Linked DNA regions of Homo sapiens: region 2 is linked to region 1. The links are contacts of gene promoters, found by promoter capture Hi-C in human tissues and cell types (Jung and others, 2019). All regions are on one chromosome and are shown on one strand. The core of a region is centred on a gene start or on the middle of the fragment in contact, and the rest is flanking DNA. Distances in the headings are between cores, read along the strand shown. Region 1 holds the start of TMEM106C (transmembrane protein 106C). Region 2 overlaps SENP1 (SUMO specific peptidase 1).

Region 1 (2,700 bases), core at 34-2,533:
GTTAATAGTAATAGATGATCCTGTACCAAGGCTAAGTATTTGTCTCTCTCTCTTGACCTGATATATTTTTCTGACCTTAGGCTGTTAAGGATTAGCTACCCATTTCCTTGAAAAGCAGCTTCCAAGATGGTTCCCCCGCAAAGCTGTCCCAATCCTTGTGACAGCGATAAAGAAATGTGCCTGTCAACAAATCCCACAACACAGAGCGAACTGAATGTTCCAAACCTCAGGAAAAGAACAAGAGTGGCGGTAAAGAAAAGAAAGGGTTGGAAAAATAAGGAGAGGAAGAGAAGTTGCAGAACTGCCCAAGTGTATTAAGTCAGTTGAGCTGGCTCCTGTCCAGGGCACTGTCTCTATTATGGTATTACTGCCTAGAAGAAAAGTTGTCTGGGCAGACAGGAGAACTCCGAGGGTACCTTGGGATTCTCATCAGGGAATCATCCCTCCATGATCACCTGTTGGAATGTAGCCTGTCCCCTGGCACGTGAGACAGGTGATGCTATCTCTCCCGGTGAATTCCACATATGGGAACTGAGCAATGGCTTCTTCCTGCTCTCGTTCAGCCAGCAAACCGTCCCTGTCATCTTCTTGCTTTCGCCTGCAGGAGGAGGGGCGAGCAGCAGCGGAATGCTGAGACCCCATGGCCGTGATATGCCACTGGTGTCATGTCCTAAGATGAAAAGAGGGAGTGCACGTTAGCGGCCCCAGTGAATCACGACAGAAATCGCTTGTTTCTATAAGAAAATTAAAAACGCAAAAATGACAAGTTGCCGCCCTGAGTGTGGTCCCAACACCTGTACGATTTCTATCGGGACCCTCATTTTGTAGTAGTGCTACCCACTCTCCTCTTACCCGCCACACACAGCCGGCGGGGGTGGGGAGGGGGAACGGGGCCTGCCTTTCACGCACCTGCCTCGATCCTCACCGCCCTGGGACTTGGGGCACCCCCGCTCCCACCTGGTCCAGCCTCGCCCCTTCCTCTTCACTATTTGTAAGCTCTATGCCCCTCCTCGAGCAACAAACAGGCACCAAATTGATAACCGGCCTTAACGATTCCCATTCCTCTCCACCCCCCAGCCCCAGGAGGCGGGCTCAGGTCACGCCCCTTGGCAAAAAGCGATGCTCTGAGCCCACCAAAGTGGCCCAGGCAGGAGCGAACGCCAGCGTCGCAGACCTGCAGGGCACGAACTCCCGGCAGCTCCTCTCCGGCCGCTCCCCCGACCACCTGCCAGCTTGAGGACTTACCAGCCTCTTCGGTCGGCGGAGCGGCACGCACTCAGCGCGCAGGCGCCAAATACCAAGCCCGCCAGGAGAACGCGGGCGCGCGCTCGCGCGTGCGCTCTTCGCGGCTCCGGAGGCCTTCCCAATATCGCAGCTGTCTGGCTCCCTCGGTTCCGGTAGAGGGCGGCAGAGAGCGCCGGGGAGCCGCGACCCTTGCTGTTGGGCCGCGGTAGTCCGCGGAGTCGGGATGATGCTCTGCTGTTCGCTAGATAGGCTGGGAAAGGCTCCAGTCAAGTTTCCAGAGCAAAACACTTCTCTGCTGCGAGAGGAGGAAGGTGCTGCCGGCTACCGAAGCCATTCTGAAATATTCTTTATAGTACAGGAGCTGTGTAGTCGCTGAGGGTACACACATGCGGAGCATTCGGATAAACTGCCTTTGCAAAAATTGTAAGTGAGAAAATTATGACAGTGAAAGAGATCTGACTTACCCAGTTCCGTCTTGCTTCTAACCTCCGAACTGCCCTTGTTCATTCCTGGGTATAGGCCAAACTAACTTTGGGAGGAATTTAGTTTATAGTTGAACTTCGAAGCAAAGATAACAGCCCTTCCCCAAAACAAACCCCCTTCTTGCCTGGGGACCAGACTGCCTTTGTAAGACTAACAAATTAGCCACAAGATTAGAAATTATGGTTTAGGAGTCATCCAGACAGAGGTCACAAGATTCCAAACCTTCCCTATTGCTCCAAGGGATAACATCACTATTGTAAAATCTAAGATCGGTGCTGGGGATATTTTTCAGACCCTGCATTCTGAGGCACCAGCTGGCAGTACCTAGACCAGTTATCTGGCTCAGCCAGTTCTGCAATCCCACCCAGGAACAGAAAACAGCAAGAAGAACCCACTTAGACCCCCCTATGATTTCATCTCCAACCTGACCAATCAGCACTCCCCACTGCCTGATACCTACCAGCCGAATTATCCTTAAAAAACCCCAGTCTCTGAATTATCGGGGAGACTTATTTGAGTGATAAAACTCTGGTATCTCATTCAGCCGGCTCTGCATGAATTAAAATCTCCATTGCAATTCCCCTGTCTTGATGAATCAGCTCTGGGCAACGGGCAAGGAGAACCCGTCCGGCAATTATATCAGAACCTGTCTTCAGTCCAGGAGGGGAACCCAGAGGCTTCATCAGACCCCTCCAATACTGTAGATAAAAGTGCTGCTGGAAGTCTCACAAGTCAGAGGGGCCCAGCCTGGGGGAAACCTTCCATGGGGAGTCCTGCTGGCTTCTCGCAGGAACGGACCCCACAGCTGAGCTTTGCAAGCCAATTAGGTGCCAAGAGGCACCAAGGAGTAGATTCATTCGGTAGTAGGGCCCCCCCTTCCCCAGACCTCCACAAAAAAGGCACGTACGTAAGAGGTTAGAAAGCACTTTTCGTTCGTTTGTTTGTTTGTTCGTTTGTTTTGAGATGGAGTCT
Region 2 (2,700 bases), core at 122-2,621, 130 kb before region 1:
AATTATGCTTTTAAAAAAATGTTCAGGCAGATTATTATTATTATTAGAGACAGGGTCTCACTCTCTTGCCTAGGCTGGAGTGCAGTGGTGTTATCTTGGCTCACTCCATCCTCTGCCTTGGGTTCAAGCGATTCTCATGCTTCAGCCTCCAAGTAGCTAGGATTACAGGCATGTGCCACTATGCCTGGTGTATTTTTAGTAGAGATGGGGTTTTGCCATGTTAGCCAGGCTGGTCTCAAACTCCTGGCCTCAAGTAAGTGATCCGCCCACCTCAGCCTCCCAGAGTGCTGGGATTACAGGTGTGAGCCACCACACCTGGCAGGTGGATTACTTCTTAAAGCACTTCTTTGTGTTAAAACAGGAAATGAACCAGTGTTAACAGTGTGTGTTACTGAATGGTGAATTTTTTCCCCCAATTTTTTTATATTTAAAATTTTTTCTATAGTTAAAATATTTAAAAAGTTTCTTTTGGGAGCATTTTTGTTTTTTGTTTGTGTTTTTCTTTGTTGTTGTTGTTGTTGTTTTCTGAGACAGGGTCTCACTCTGTCACCCAGGCTGGAGTGCAGTGACTCTGTCATGGCTCACTGCAGCCTTGACCTCCCCGGGCTCAGAGTATCCTTCCAGGTCGGCCTCCTGAGTAGCTGGGACTACAGGCATGCACCACCATGTCTGGCTAATGTTTTGTTTTGTTTTTTAATAGAGACAAGATTTTGCCTTATTTCCCAGGCTGGTCTCGAACTCCTGGGCTCAAGCCATTCGTCTGCCTCAGCCTCCCAAAGTGCTAGTATTACAGGTGTGAGCCACCTTGCCTGGTCTCGTTATTTTTAAAGCTTTAAATTAAGCTGTTTTTATATGTGTACAAGTTTTGAACTGTTTGGTAGATGGCCTCAATTAATTCCAAATGAGCCAATTTCTGCACATGGACCTCTTTTGACAATGACAATATGAGATTTTTGCCATTGGTTAGCTATGAAAGAGGGATTTTATTTTATTGCAGAGTTGTTCTTCAAGTTCTTTTTTGTCTTTTTTTATTATTATTGTTAGACATAGGGTCTCCCTCTGTCCCCCAGGCTGGAGTGCAGTGGTGTGATGATAGCTCACTGTAAATTTGAACTCATGGGCTCAAAACAGTCCTCCTGCCTCAGCTTCCCAAGTGGTTGAGGCTACAGACACGTGCCACATTGGCTGGCTAACTTTTTTTTTTTTTTTTTGAGATGGAGTTTTGCTCTTGTTGCCCAGGCTGGAGTGCAGTGGCACGATCTTGGCCCACTGCAACCTCTGCCTCCCAGGGTCAAGCAATTCTCCTGCCTCAGCCTCCCGAGTAGCTGGGATTACAGGTACCCGCCACCATGCCTGGCTAATTTTTGTATTTCTGGTAGAGACAGGGTTTCACCATGTTGGCCAGGCTGGTCTTGAACTCCTGACCCCGTGATCCACCCGCCTCAACCTCCCAAAGTGCTGGGATTACAGGTGTGAGCCACCACACCTGACCTGCTGGCTAATTTTTAAATTTTTTTGTAGAGACAGGGTCTTACTATGTTGCCTAGATAGATCTTGAACTTTTGGCCTCAAAAAAATCCTCCTGCCTCAGCCTCTCAGAGTGCTGGGATTACAGGCATGAGACACCATGCCTGGGTGGGAATTGTTTTTATTAGGTGAAAAGATTGGTTCATAGGAAAAACGTTATTGAAGAATTATGTGACTTGAACTAATCCAGACTGTCTCCCCAGATGATATTGCTGATAGGATGAGGATGGATGCTGGAGAAGTGACTTTAGTGAACCACAACTCCGTATTCAAAACCCACCTCCTGCCACAAACAGGTTTTCCAGAGGACCAGCTTTCGCTTTCTGACCAGCAGGTTAGGAGCAATTTTCTTCCTTTAATTAATTAATTATTTGGGCTCATCATAAGTTTTCATCTTATGTAGTTTAAATGCCACACTCAAAAATACAAGCATAGCTATAAACTTTTTAGAATCAGTAATTTTAGTGTTTGGAATTCTGCTCTATATATTAAAATTAAGACAAGGACGTTAAGACAAAATAGGCTATGTATGAGTTCTTTGAGAACAGTACGTTTTAGAAAACTCATTGTTCCTCTGAATTTTAAAATTACTTATATGCAGATCAGTGTTCTTTTAAACTAGCACCTAAAATTGCTGAGCATTAAATGGGGGAGAAATGTGAAAATATACAGCAGCTCTAAGATGTCTGTGCTATAATGCCTGATTTCTCAAGGTCTAGTTCGGGACCAGCAGCATCAACATTACTTGGGAGCTTGATAGAAATGCAGACTCTCAGGCTTTACCTCATATCACTGAATCAGAATTTATATTTTAAAAACATCCTCATTTGATTTATATGCACATGAAAGTGTGGGGAGCACTATTAAGCAGTCTTTTTCAATAGGAAAGCCATTAGTAATTTGGATGAGATCATTCTTTGATGTGTGAATCTTTCCTAATTATAGTAGGATGTTTAGCATCCATGAGCCCTAGGCACTAAATTCCTGTAACATCCACCTCCCCCCATAATCATTTTAATAGTTAATATATATCCACACATTTCCAGATATGTACTCAGGGTATAGCACCACCTCTGATTAAGAGCTATCTCTGTAAAGTTATCAAAAGAACCAAAACCAGATTGATTTTTCTCAACCTTTTTAATATGTGTTATAAATGGCTTTCAGACAGGA

What was found. Contacts are between HindIII fragments. The study calls those that stand out against the background at their distance.
Region 2: a fragment that was not itself captured here is called in contact with the fragment with the promoter of TMEM106C in region 1 in 1 of the 25 tissues and cell types used here (H1 embryonic stem cells).

Annotation. Positions count from the first base shown.
Region 1 is chr12:47,962,179-47,964,878 of GRCh38, reverse strand. TMEM106C (transmembrane protein 106C) reads right to left here and starts at 1,283. Exons shown (of 8, transcript NM_001143842.2): 1 at 1,175-1,283; 2 at 456-670. The coding sequence starts at 642. The HindIII fragment of the contact is 8,708 bases long and covers 1-2,700 here.
Region 2 is chr12:48,097,155-48,099,854 of GRCh38, reverse strand. It overlaps SENP1 (SUMO specific peptidase 1), which reads left to right. Exons shown (of 18, transcript NM_001267594.2): 3 at 1,731-1,861. Among named protein-coding and RNA genes, the nearest start is that of SENP1, 7.6 kb to the left of the region's middle. The HindIII fragment of the contact is 5,221 bases long and covers 1-2,700 here.